Linked DNA regions of Homo sapiens: region 1 is linked to region 2. The links are contacts of gene promoters, found by promoter capture Hi-C in human tissues and cell types (Jung and others, 2019). All regions are on one chromosome and are shown on one strand. Each heading gives the region's core, a stretch centred on a gene start or on the middle of the fragment in contact. The rest is flanking DNA. Distances are from core to core; before and after follow the strand shown. Region 1 holds the start of KRT4 (keratin 4). Region 2 holds the start of KRT81 (keratin 81).

Region 1 (6,765 bases), core at 3,490-5,989, 520 kb before region 2:
TGTCTCTGGTTCCCCAAGAATGACTCAGGCCCGGTGGGGCAGTTGAGGTTGGGTGACCGAATGGAGTGAGGGTGCCCGCCTGGCCAGGGAGGGCAGGAGCACTTTCCCACACCACACAGTGGGTTTGGAGATGAGAGTGACAGAAGCCCTCAGGATCCCTTAATCCCAGGGCTGAATGTAAGGGCTTGCCTCCCTTACCCAGAAAGCCCTGAGCAAACACTCCCTCCGCCTGGCTCCACACCCCTGTCGGCTGCTCATCCCTCTGTGAAAAGATTGGGAACAGCTGCCAAACAAGGAAGGGTCACCGAGGGCAGTAGCAGAATCTGCGTGTGGAGGTCTGGGGAGGGGCAGGGGACAAGCTTCCAGCTGTGGCTGCTGGGTAGTGGCGCCTTGTTCAGCCACCTGCCTCTGGCCCACATATGAAGGCAATGTCTTTCCCCGTTTTCAGGGAAAGAAACTCATCTCTCTTTCTCTCTCACTCTAGGGTGTAAAGGCGCTCTTGCATAGGAAGTTCTTCCTTAGGTCTACCTTCGGTTTCTCAGGCTCAGTTTGAAGATTTTGTGAGCTTCTTGCAATTCTGATTTAATAATAAGGACACAGAATGTGGCTCTAGACTAGAACTTTCTTCTTGTTTGGATTGGGTTTATGGTAGGGTTTGTCATGAAATTAATTTGGATTTAGTTAATTGGAGGATACAAAACTGGCCCCTCAGGACAGTGTCATACCTTATTGGGTACTTGTAAGGACAGGGCCACATCAACCAAGCAACTGACCATGTGCTGAGGGTAAGGACAAAAAGGAGCGGAGCTGCATCTGCAGAGCTTGCAGCCTGCTGGCCAGACCCCATGGCTGTCTTGGTGGACCATGAGGTACAGGGCTGTATAAGTTGCTGTGTATTTTTTTCCCTGCATATTCTGTGTGGGCCAGTCACTCATATAAAACATTATACCTACCGTTTTATACATTGTAAGGTCACAAGCTTTGAAGTCAGACAGATAGTACTGACTTCCTATCTCTACCACTTCCTGGCTGTGTGATCTCAGGCAAGTTACATACCCCTCTGAGCCTCAATATCTGCAGCTCCAAACTGGACATAGCAAAGCACCTCTTTGACTGGGTTGTTGGAAGAAGCACCTAGTGTTCAGCATATAACAGTAGTTCCAAGAGAGAATCCCTTCTACCCAAGAGGCACCGCTGCCTTTCCTTCATCTTCCTTCTTGTATCAGCGATGGCACACCTCAAGTCACCTTCATGAGAAGTACCTCAATCGTAGCTCCATGGTTTGGGTGCCCCACAGGCACAAAATAAGACTGATTACATATTCTATATTGTTTCCCTGAAAATCCCCTTGGCTCCTGGCTTGCTTTTTGTTCTAAGCAGTAGACACAACTCTAGGGGCAGTGAACCCATGCCATTTTCTCCTAGTGTTGGAGTGTTACAGCCATAGAGTAAAAGACCCAATAAGCACACTATGAGCCATCTCAGGGATTCACTTGTGCTCAGGCAAAGCCTACCCCGGCCTGTGATAGTCCCCATCAAATCCCAGGGGCTACCAGAGAAGAAAGCAGTGAACGGCAGGTGCAGAGGCTGAGGTGAGGCAGCCGGGGGGTGAGCTCCAGCCATCACTCAGGGTGAGATCCTGATGGCCCTGCCATGTCCTCTGGGGCAGGTAACCAGTCAATTGGACCTCAGCTTCCCAAGTGGGAGGCTCACATGTCTCCTCAGCTCCTGCAGCTGCAGCCCGCAAAGACCTGCAGTAGCTCCCACCCTCCTTCCAAGCCATGCCCACCTTAGGAGCAACAGTGGAAATCGATAGACCCTGGGATGCTAGTGCCCCCAGAGCCCCTTTGACCCGAACAGTCAGTTCCATCAGATTTATTTGGGTGCACATTCTGGATTGGTTGTGACACAATTTAGACAGAGTGGCTTTATACCAGGCAGAACAGTGTGAGTGAGAGGCTATAGAATATGGAGCCTTTGGGCCAGGTGCAGTGGCTTACGCCTGTAATCCCTGCACTTTGGGAGGCCGAGGCGGGCAGATCACGAGGTCAGGAGATGGAGACCACGGTGAAACCCCGTCTCTACTAAAAATACAAAAAAAAAAAAAAAAAAAATTAGCTGGGCGCGGTGGCGGGCGCCTGTAGTCCCAGCTACTTGGGAGGCTGAGGCAGGAGAATGGCGTGAACCCAGGAGGCGGAGCTTGCAGTGAGCCGAGATGGCGCCACTGCTCTCCAGCCTGGGCGACAGAGTGAGACTCCGTCTCAAAAAAACAAAAACAAAACCCAAAACAAAAACCAAAAAAAAAAAAAAAGAATATGGAACTTTTGGGACCAGACTGATGTAAGTTTAAATCCTGGCTCCACCACGTGCTGCTGTGTGACCCTGGGAGCTACTTTACTTCTCTGAGTTTCTGTAAGGAAGGCTAATGGTGCTGACTCCATAGAGCCTCTAAGTAGACTAGTTGATCAAATGTAGGTAAAGCATCCAGCACAGAGCTTGGCACGAAGTCGGCGCTTGGTGAATCTGGGCAGAAAGGATCAGTGAAAGTCCAACCCCTTCCTTCTAGGAGATGGTTCTGGCTCTAGAATGCTCACCTACTGCAGGTGGACTGACCCATGACGCGGGCATTCTCCTGTGATGGGGCCTGGGGCCTCCAGTCCTCATGGCCACAGCCCCTCCACCCCCTCTCCACTTACTTAGAGGCCATCTTGGCAGAGACAGACCCGAGGTAGGGGAGGGAGGGGTTGGGGGAATGGGGACAAGGGAGGAAGTGGCTGGAGAAGGAGCTGGCTGAACTCCCAGCCAGCCTGGCCTTCCCTGCAGCCCTGCGTCTGGGGTGGGATCTCCTGACCACTCTGTCCTCAGCACTGGCCCCTGCCCTCTCTCTGTGCATGGAGGCAGCCGTTCACTCTCTCCCTGGCCAGCTTTCATTCAGCTAGGGGCAGCTTGGGTCTGTGGGATTATCCAGGTGCTGGTGACTGCTCTTCCTCAGACCTGGGGTCATTTCATCTATGAGGAATTGAGGAAAGGAGGGAGAACAAACACACCAGATTTCTCCCTGTAAATGGCAATGGCAAAGCCTGGGAAAGAAGAGAATGAATGCCTGCTGACCTCCTATATGCCAGGCACCATGGGGACATTGTCTAATTCCTTGTGAGGCAGGTGTCCCATTTGGTAGATGAGAAGATGGATTGGATGGTGTATTAGGCCATTATTACGCTGCTGATAAAGACATACCTGAGTCTGAGCAATTTACAAAAGAAAGAGATTTATTGGACTTAACAGTTCCATGTGGCTGGGGAGGCCTCGCAATCATGGCAGAAAGCAAAAGGCACTTGTTACATGGTGGTGGCAAGAGAGAGAATGAAAGCCAAGCAAAATGGGTTTTTCCTTATTAAACATCAGATCTCGTGAGACTTATTCACTACCACAAGAACAGTATGGGGGAAACCGCCCCCATAATTCAATCATCTCCCACCGGGGCCCTCCCACAATGTGTGGGAAATATGGGAGTACAATTCAAGATGAGATTTGGGTGGGGACACAGAGCCAAACCATATTGGATGGGTTTAGAGTGCTTAGTTGGCCCACCCAAGGTTATACAGCTAGTTAGTGGCAACAGGAGGGATTTGAACACAGATCTGTTACTGTTCAGTTGGGAAGAATTTAAGTTATGGCTTAAAACTAGGATTTTGCATTTAAAAACATTGCTCTGAGAAGGGATCCATAGGTTTCATCATTCTGCCAAAGGGATCCCCAGCAGCAAAAAAGTTATGAACTCCTGCCCTGAATTCTGCACCATTACAGAAAACCAGAACACACCTAGCAAACAACTGGACAGCAAATGGAGCAGCAGAGTGCACACCACCAGACCCCGCTGGAGAACGCCCATCTAGAATTGTGCAAGCACAGATTGAAGGGAGGCCTGCGGGGCAGCATGGGTACCCAGGGCTGAGAAAGACAGTCACGGTTTTCTTTGGGGAGGTGTTTTGTCTTCCCCCATCTCCTTAGTACCTAGCTCCATGCCTGGCAGTTTCTCAGTAGCTGTTGGCCAAGTTGAAGTGAATCTGGATCTAGGTTGGAAGGCTAAGGCTGGAATACAGAATATTTCCCCTTTTTATAGGTACATGGAGCCAAGAACATGTGGAGGAATAAGAATGCTAAGAATGACAAATATACATGTGGCTTTTGACAGTTTACAGAGCACTCCATTAATCACTAGCTCACTCTATCCTGAGAAGTGGCAAGGCAAATATTTGTATTACTTCCAATTTACAGGGAAAGCAACTGGGCCTCAGAGGGTGACTTGCTCCGGTTTGCAGAGCTAGGAGGTGGCAGGCTGTGCGCTCAAACTCAGGCTGTCTAACTCCACATTCTGTGGGGTGAGAGGATGGGTGATGGGGTGTCTTTTCTGGAGGAGGGAGGTGCTGTGAGCCTAGCGAGATGGAGGTACAGTGGGTGTGGGCCTGGAGCGCTGGGCCCAGGCAGGGGCTTCTGATTAGGAAGCCCTGGGGCACCAGTTCAGGTTCTCCCAGAGAGTAGTGTGATGGGATCCAGTAACCTGTGCCCTCCAGATGACTTCTGTAGGTGTGTTTAGTGACATGCTCAACGGGTGCGGGAAGGATGGGCTTGTGCCAAGGGCCAAGCCCAGAGATGTTTCAGATTTTTCCCTTTATGCCCCTGCAACCAAGCCCTGCTGCTCCAGGACATATAAGAGACGAAGGCTGAGGGCTCCAGCACTCACCGGCCTGGGCCCTGTCACTTCTCTGATAGCTCCCAGCTCGCTCTCTGCAGCCATGATTGCCAGACAGCAGTGTGTCCGAGGCGGGCCCCGGGGCTTCAGCTGTGGCTCGGCCATTGTAGGCGGTGGCAAGAGAGGTGCCTTCAGCTCAGTCTCCATGTCTGGAGGTGCTGGCCGATGCTCTTCTGGGGGATTTGGCAGCAGAAGCCTCTACAACCTCAGGGGGAACAAAAGCATCTCCATGAGTGTGGCTGGGTCACGACAAGGTGCCTGCTTTGGGGGTGCTGGAGGCTTTGGCACTGGTGGCTTTGGTGGTGGATTTGGGGGCTCCTTCAGTGGTAAGGGTGGCCCTGGCTTCCCCGTCTGCCCCGCTGGGGGAATTCAGGAGGTCACCATCAACCAGAGCTTGCTCACCCCCCTCCACGTGGAGATTGACCCTGAGATCCAGAAAGTCCGGACGGAAGAGCGCGAACAGATCAAGCTCCTCAACAACAAGTTTGCCTCCTTCATCGACAAGGTGAGCTGTGTCCTCGGCTGGAGAGGGGCAGTTAGAAGAGAGGGGTCCTGAGTCCTGGGGTCTCAGACCTGAGCCTGCCACAGGTGCTGGGGAGACCACTGAACTTCCCTGGGCCCCAATTCTCCAGCTGTTGAAGGGGCATCATGACTTTGAGCCTTCCTTTTTGTCCCGTGGCTGGTGGGAAGGTGGGATGCTCAAGGCAGTTAAGTGTTTGGAATTCCCTAGACAGGCTGTGGGATACTGGACAAATCATTTGGCTTTTCTGGCTCTAGTCATCCCAGCTATAAAGGGGGTTCATTATTTCTCTGCTTTTTCTCAGATTTTGGTTTTGAATATAATGCAGTTAACCCCATTAATCACTTAACAGTGGCCACTTCTGTTCTTAGAACAGAAGACAACTAAGCTGATTTTGCAAATGAAAAAGGGACTGGCTCCAGTGGCAGATTCTAGGTCTCACCAAGGCCTTGGAAATTTACTTTTTTCATTCCTTTGACTGGACAACACTGCTCATGTCTGGGTCTGTTTGAAGAAAGGAGACAGGTCTCTTTTCTTTTTGTAGCCCAACTTCCTTTTTCATGCAACGTCTAGAAGTTCAAGTTCTTTAAGCTCAGTTATGGTCATGCATGATGGATGATAGTGAGCAGTGCAGCCCCAGAGAGCCGAGTCATCCAAAGATTGATGACTGGGTGGATGAGTGCCTCCCTTTGGTCCAGGTTGCCCTGGTTCACCAGGCATCAAAGTCTTGGGCAGCTTCGACATATGGGGCAAGAATGAACACTTTTGGAATAGAATAAGGTGCATATTTGTTCTTCTTGCTAGTTTGAATAAACCCATAGTAACTTAAAGAGGTTTTACTGTGACTATAGGACATGCAGATGTGATAGCAAAAACTCAGGGCTCTTTGATGCATCCTTGTCTCATCTCATCTCATTTTACCTTTTGGGTTCAAAATGTGATCGGTCTGCCTTACCTGCTTTCCTTTCAATTCTGAGGCTCATAACATGGAAATGTCATGCTAAGCTGCTGTCCTGGTTTGTCTGGCTAGATTTTTTCATAGAGAGAGGGAAAGTTCAGGAAAGTCCTTTGCAGAATGGAGTTTAGGTGAGACAATGCGTACAGGGCCCTTGTTTTAAATATCTATACTCAGTTGTTCACAGGTTCACAGGGACACGCCAGATCCATTGATAAGTAAGCTTATTTAAAAAGTCTGTAGTGACTTTGTCTTTCATTTGCCTTGGGTCAGGATCACTTTGAATGCAAGAGCCTCCAGATTGTGATGTCTCTTAATTTTATTTTGTTATTTCATAGAAGTTTAATGTTCTTTGGGGCTTTGGGTGCCTGCGGCTAGGAAGTTGTTCTTGTTGCACTGTTAGGCCCTGCTTCTCTGGCTGTGCTCTATTCTCCACAACCTATGTGACCCCTTGGTGCTATGGGCTCGAGAATGGGGCCATCATGTCAACCCGAGTGAATGGTGCCCTGGAGATGCAACATAGTGGCCCTACTTGGG
Region 2 (6,899 bases), core at 3,532-6,031:
GTGACCCTTCCACCATACTTCCCAGATCTTCTCCCATTTTTCCTCCACTGTCCTCCAGTTTCCTCCTCTTCCTGACTATCTCCTAAGATCTCTCCCTCATTTTCTTCTCCACCCATGCAGCACTCTCCTTCTCTTCTTCTAAGTCACCCTGAGAATAATAGTCTAAGACCAAGTATTTCTTTCTCCCTCTTTTCCTAGAAATCTCCTCTGATTTGCTTCTCTCTTTCCTTCTCCAATCCGACACCTGGTCTCTACTCTGCCCCAAGGCCTTCAAGATCCTTGTTCTCATTGGCTGACTTTCCCCACCACCCCCTTATAGCCCAAGCCAAGGACTTTGCTTGGTTGAAGGACACATCTCACTCACTTCATTCATCCTTCAGGCCCCAGCAAGGAAGGTCACCCCTCTCCACCCCCACCCCCAGGAATAGCCACATCATCTGCTTCATGTGTCCCCACCCTATCCTACCACAAAGCTTTGCACAATAAACCACCAAGCTTTGATGGCTCCATTACTCAGCACTTAATATGCAGCTGGTATTCTTTTCATTCATTCAAAAAATATTTATTGAGCACCTACTATGTGACAAGCCCTTGGAATATATCCACGAAGAAAACATTTGTACACACTGATGTGCTGCAGGGTTTCCATTTTTGTTCATTATCTGGGTATGTGTCTCTGCTTTTCTCTTAATACTGGAAGCTTGCCAAGAACAAGGGTGAGCTCTCCTATACTCTCTGGCCCTGAACCCTGAGAGCAACCTGCAGGGCCCTGCAGAGGGCATGGGGCAAGATGAGTGTTTGTGTTTTTATGTTATGTACAAACACCAGCTACTGTGTGATACTTATTACTGATGGCCGATGGTGTACAGAAGGGAGTGCAATGGGACAAACGCATCCCTTCCTTTGGGATCAGACACACAGGCTCTGGGTTCCAGTTCTGCTACTAACATGCAACCTGAGCCTTAACCTCCCTAGACCTCAGTGTCCTCATCTATAAAACGAGAATAATAACACCAACCTCAGAGGGCAACTGTAAAAATTAAATGAGTTAATGCATGTTGGACTCTTAAAATAGTATCTAGTGTGGTATAAGATGAACATCAAAAGATTTTATTATTAAGTTTGGAAGAATAGTCATAAAATAGCTTTCTACATGAAACATCTACTACTGACATAACTTTAAAAAAAATAGCCACATACCCCAGAAAAACTCTTGCATAAATGCACCAGAAGACATGAGAAAGGATGTTCATAGCAGCTCTGTTCAATCTACAGAACTCTGGAAACAACCTTGTGGCTATCGAGGTAGAAAGGCAAATAAACTGTGGTATAGCCATGCAATGAGTGCAATCCACAGTGAAAATGAACACAGGACAGCTACAGGAAGCAACATTTAATGAAAGAAACCAGATGCACAAGGATCCATGCAACATGAGTCCATTTATGTGAAGTTCAAAAGCTGGAAAAAGAAACAATATGTCATTGCAAGATGGGTGCATTGGTTCTAAAACTGTAAGAAAAGCAAAGGAATAATTAAACACAAAATGCAAGAGAGGAGTCACCCTAGGCCAGGAAGGAGTAGGGTACAATCAGAACAAGGTACATAGGAAGCTCCTGAAATACACACATGTTCTATTTTTTCCTATAAGTGGTAGGTATTGCTACAGATCTAACCACCTATGCATTTTTTGTGTTGAAATATTTCACAATAAAAATAATTGTTATCTCCACAAAGTTAAAATCTATCCTCTTTACCTTGCCAGAGCCAAGACCATAGAGTGGAGATTCTGCCATCTTCCCTCCCCTCCTCCCTGCCACCTTCCCTCCCCTCCTCCCTTCCCCATGACAAGGTTTTTTCACTCTGAAGAAAACAAGTTGAATGTCCTTTTAGGTCTTCAAAAATTAGCAGCAATTAATTCCTGAAGTTTAATGAAATGGTGTCACATTTGAATTTTTCATATTCTTACATCTTTAAAATTGCTTAGTAAGGACCAGCCATTAGTAATTAGCTTGTGTTTATACATGTTGTTTTTATAAGGAGTTATACTGGTAGAAAAGGTGAAGTGTGGATGAGATGTACTTTGACTCACAGTGCTCCTCAGGACACCCAACCGCTGGTTTACTGGGGACATCACTGCTCAATTGTGAGCAGTGCCCCAAATTCCAGATGAGGGTACAAAGAGCTTCAGAAGTGCTGGCCCAGCAGCCCTGAACTCACAAAGGGACAGCAGGTGCCATACTCTTCTCTGGGGTGACCAGATAGCTCAACACAGTCTGTGACCTCCCACATTTGTCCTGCACAAGGCCACACTCTGAATGTTTTGCACAGATACCCTGAGAGCCCTATTCTCTTCTATTTTTTTCCTCTCCTCTCTTTTCCCATCAATCCTGCTTCTGTTCTCATTCCCTAAGTCTACTCTGCCTGCCTTTGCCCTTGAAGCATAGCAGCTCCAGGGGGCTATAAGCCAGGCCATTTCACTTCTCTTTTCTTCTCCTCAATTTAATGCAAACCTCTGTACTTTACGAGCTAATTTTTCTAGGACCTGCTCTATTGGAGTGGGGGGTGGTTCACTGGGTAAGTAGAACATAGTACAGTCTATCAAAGTATTGCCATATACCAGAGGTATGCAAATAACTAAAACTGATGTTTTCCACCCCGTCCTTCAATTCTTAGCCACGGGGTGCTGCACATCTAACTCATACTCCTTCCCAGCCCCCAAGTAGCCTCACATCGCCGTGTGTCCCTAAATGACCCCTCATGGTTCTAACCATCCCAATCCACTCTGACTCTGCCCGTCTTCCTTAGATGGACTCTCTCACACCCTAAATTCACAGATACTCCCCTGTAAACAACTTTCACTACCCTCTTGAACTTATCCAAAGATTAGGAAGTCAAGGGGTTGTCACAGCTTATAAGTGAGAAGGCAATGCAACTCCTGGCTCCATCACTTACCAGCTGGGAGACTTCGGGCAAGTTATTTAACCTCCCTGACCCTTGGTTTCCTCATCAGTAAAATGGGGATAATGGCACATACTTCATATGATTGATGTGAGAATTAGAGATCATTTACGATATATAATGATGATCACATAGTAGGTGACCAATTAAAAAGAAACATATTCTTATCAAACTAAGATCCATGTTTCTCTACACAGTTCTTTCTAATTCTAATTCTCTATACAGTTTTTCCTAATACAGGGGGAAATGTACTGAAGTGATCCAACCTCCATCTCCTGGGTTCAAGCAATTCTCCTGCCTTAGCCTCCCATGTAGCTGGGAATACAGGCACGTGCCACCATAACGGGCTAATTTTTGTATTTGTAGTAGAGACGGGGTTTCACCATCTCTGGTCTTAAACTCCTCCACTGAGGCTGGTCTTGAACTCCTGACCTCAGGTGATCCACCCCCCTCAGACTCCCAAAGTGCTGGGATTACAGGTATGAGCCACTGCGCCCAGCTGTGATTCAATTTAGCATCACCAATCTGACATTTTATGCTTCCTGGGGTGATATAATAAGAGTTACACAGCATATTTTATGAAGTATTCTGTCCCAACAATGTTTAATTTAAACCTAATCCAGCCTCTAGCCCAGTGCTGTCCAACAGAATTTTATGTGAAAATAAACAATAAATAAAATAAAAATAAATAATAAAGAAGTGTTCTTTATATGCACTGTCTAATAAGGTAGGCACTACTTACAGGTAGCTGCTGAGGACTCAAAATGTGGATAGTGCAACTGAATAACTAGATTTTTAACTTATTTAGTTTTTACTAACTTAAATTTAAGTAGCCACATCTGCCTATTGTCTACCAAATTGGACATCCCAGCTCAAGATTTACTTTCTAATTTATAGAAAATACAAGGGCTAGAGCCACAAATTAAATTATGTAAAATGTAGTTTTAAAATCCTTAGGACAGTTAGGAAAATTGAATCTGAGATGAATAGTAAGTGGTGCTTTGGAATTATTGTTAATTTTCCTGAATAAGAAAATAGTACTCTCCTTATTCTTAAGAAATTCCTGCTGATGTATTTAAGGGTGACATGCCATGCTTTCTGCCACTCAAATAATTGGGCAACTGTGAAAGCAAATATGGTATAATGTTAACTGTTGAATCGGGGTAAACAGGTGGAGCATCAATGCATGTGTGTTGTATTATTCCAATTTTCCTCAATATTTGAAAGCTTTCATCATAAAAAAGATAAAAGACAAATATTTAATAATCTGCTGACTGTTCCCATGGTAGGAAAAGTGAGATGGTTTTCAGCTGCCAACTGAAAAATCTGGAGATGGGGAAATCCAGATTTGTGTTTCAGGAGCACTTTAGCCACAGCTGTGATGGAAATGAGAGATGGTATTTATTAATGCCTCAGCCTTTCCTGAAACCCCTCTCCCCACATCACACTTAACACACAGGTCTCCTCCTCCCAGTTTCTCCCAGCACCTGGCCTCCCTTCTCTTCCCCTCGCCAGGCTCTACTCCTCCTTCTCGTCCTCTCCTCTGCCTTCCCCTTCCCTCCCCAATGCCTGCAGATGAAGGAATGCCCTGCTGGCAAGACACTTTGAAGATGAAACATGCTGACTCCCCCAGAGCCCAAGACTGACATCTTTTACAAAGAAGAGGGTGCAGGCCACTCCCCCATTAAAGCACATTCTGGAGAGGCGTTAGACCCGGCTAACCACCCAAGCCCATAAAGCGCAAATTGCCCCAACATCATCTTCACAGCCAAGCCCCTTCAGAATCTGCGCATAAATAGGGCTGCGGTGCCCTGAGGAGCACATTGGAGTTTCCATCAGGACTCCAGGTCCCCTATCCTGTCCTCTGCAACCCAAACGTCCAGGAGGATCATGACCTGCGGATCAGGATTTGGTGGGCGCGCCTTCAGCTGCATCTCGGCCTGCGGGCCGCGGCCCGGCCGCTGCTGCATCACCGCCGCCCCCTACCGTGGCATCTCCTGCTACCGCGGCCTCACCGGGGGCTTCGGCAGCCACAGCGTGTGCGGAGGCTTTCGGGCCGGCTCCTGCGGACGCAGCTTCGGCTACCGCTCCGGGGGCGTGTGCGGGCCCAGTCCCCCATGCATCACCACCGTGTCGGTCAACGAGAGCCTCCTCACGCCCCTCAACCTGGAGATCGACCCCAACGCGCAGTGCGTGAAGCAGGAGGAGAAGGAGCAGATCAAGTCCCTCAACAGCAGGTTCGCGGCCTTCATCGACAAGGTGGGTGTCCTGGATCACACCCTTCCTGAACCCCCACCACCTACACAGCCAGGGCCGGGCACTAAGGATGGAGTCAGAGGCACAAAGACCTCTGCCTGCCTGAGATCCCAGTCTGATGGGCGAGGCACACAGACACACAGACAGACAGACACATGCACAGACACACACACACAGGCACTCAAGATGCAGACTCAGCTGACAGTTCAGATAGAGGGAGCTTGTGAAGGAAAAGTGTGGCCAGGCTGCTCTGGGGCACAAGCTAGACATCAGGGAGTTGGGGGAGGGGGGCATGTGACCACTGCTGCTGAACTCAGAGGGGTTTGGGCAGCCCCAGGGTGAGAGAGTAGGGTGCACTGACTTCCAGATGACACAGGGGAAGGGCTGGGACAGCTGAGCTCCCTTCCAGATGGCCTGTGACACCCTCTTCCTGGCACCATCCCCAGAAACCTCATCTGTGATCTGAACCTGAGTACTCTGCCTGTGTGGGTTGCTGATCACCTAGTTTCATAGTGAGGGACTGAGCCTCCACTTCTGTTCATCTGCTTGGGTTGGGGGGGGGGGGTCACTCAACTCCCCAGGGAGCAGGCACTGACACCACCCAGCCCTTGCTCCACTCCTGAGTGGGAAATCTAGACACAGATCATGACCAGGAAATCCAGAAATTGTCTGTCTCCCACTGCCCACCTCTACTCAATCTCAGATAAGCTCCAGATTTGGGGGTTCCCATTAAAGCACCTCCCCTGCGAGCCCCCAGAGCTGGCTTTGGGGCACCAGACACCATCTGCCCCACCTTCCCACACCGAATGGCAGGTGCGCTTCCTGGAGCAGCAGAACAAACTGCTGGAGACAAAGCTGCAGTTCTACCAGAACCGCGAGTGTTGCCAGAGCAACCTGGAGCCCCTGTTTGAGGGCTACATCGAGACTCTGCGGCGGGAGGCCGAGTGCGTGGAGGCCGACAGCGGGAGGCTGGCCTCAGAGCTTAACCACGTGCAGGAGGTGCTGGAGGGCTACAAGAAGAAGTGAGTGCGGGCAAGAGGGATGCTGGGCACAGGAATGGGGTTTAGGTTAAATACACTGGATTAGACAATAAGAACTCCCAGGTAGGGTGAGTGGCCATGACCACTAGATTGACCGAGGGTGGCGGGGTCTTTTCCTTTGTGGAATCTTTGCCCAGACACCTGTGTAAGAGGAGGGCTGTGACTCCCATGACCTGTCTCTGTCCCACTTCAGCCTTCTCTCCCTGAACCACATCACCCAGCAGCTCTCCCCTGCGCTGGGTGGGGAGGAAGCCTCTGCAGGGTCCAGGCCTTCTCTCCTGACCCTCAGCCCCTATACTTGTAGCACCTGTCAGATGTGAGCCCAGGGTCTCTCATGAGTGACAGGTCTTGGGCTCTGGGTGTCCCACTGCCTTAGGTTCTAAGTCCTGAGGGTCTGCGGGTCCAGGAGGCCCCATACCTGAGCTGGGATTGATACCAGTGAGGGGAGGCTAGGGCTACAGGCCCTGAGAGTCCACGCTGTCCACTCCCAGGATGGGGCTGGGGGCTGAGTCCTATTTGCCTCCTGGGGGACCTCAGAGCCCCTTTGGGAACAGGACTGGGAGGTCCCAGATGAGCACTCTCCATCCCCAGTTCAAAGTGGATAGAGAATCCCAGACACATCCCACATCCAACTAGAAAGCACT

The links. Contacts are between HindIII fragments. The study calls those that stand out against the background at their distance.
Region 1: the fragment with the promoter of KRT4 here is called in contact with the fragment with the promoter of KRT81 in region 2 in 1 of the 25 tissues and cell types used here (IMR-90 fibroblasts).

Annotation. Positions count from the first base shown.
Region 1 is chr12:52,812,090-52,818,854 of GRCh38, reverse strand. KRT4 (keratin 4) reads left to right here and starts at 4,739. Exons shown (of 9, transcript NM_002272.4): 1 at 4,739-5,258. The coding sequence starts at 4,797. RefSeq lists enhancers at 135-636, 5,167-5,668 and a silencer at 5,834-6,034. The HindIII fragment of the contact is 8,662 bases long and covers 670-6,765 here.
Region 2 is chr12:52,289,416-52,296,314 of GRCh38, reverse strand. KRT81 (keratin 81) reads left to right here and starts at 4,781. Exons shown (of 9, transcript NM_002281.4): 1 at 4,781-5,218; 2 at 6,029-6,237. The coding sequence starts at 4,850. All of the region lies in intron 2 of KRT86 (keratin 86), which reads right to left. The HindIII fragment of the contact is 10,526 bases long and covers 2,444-6,899 here.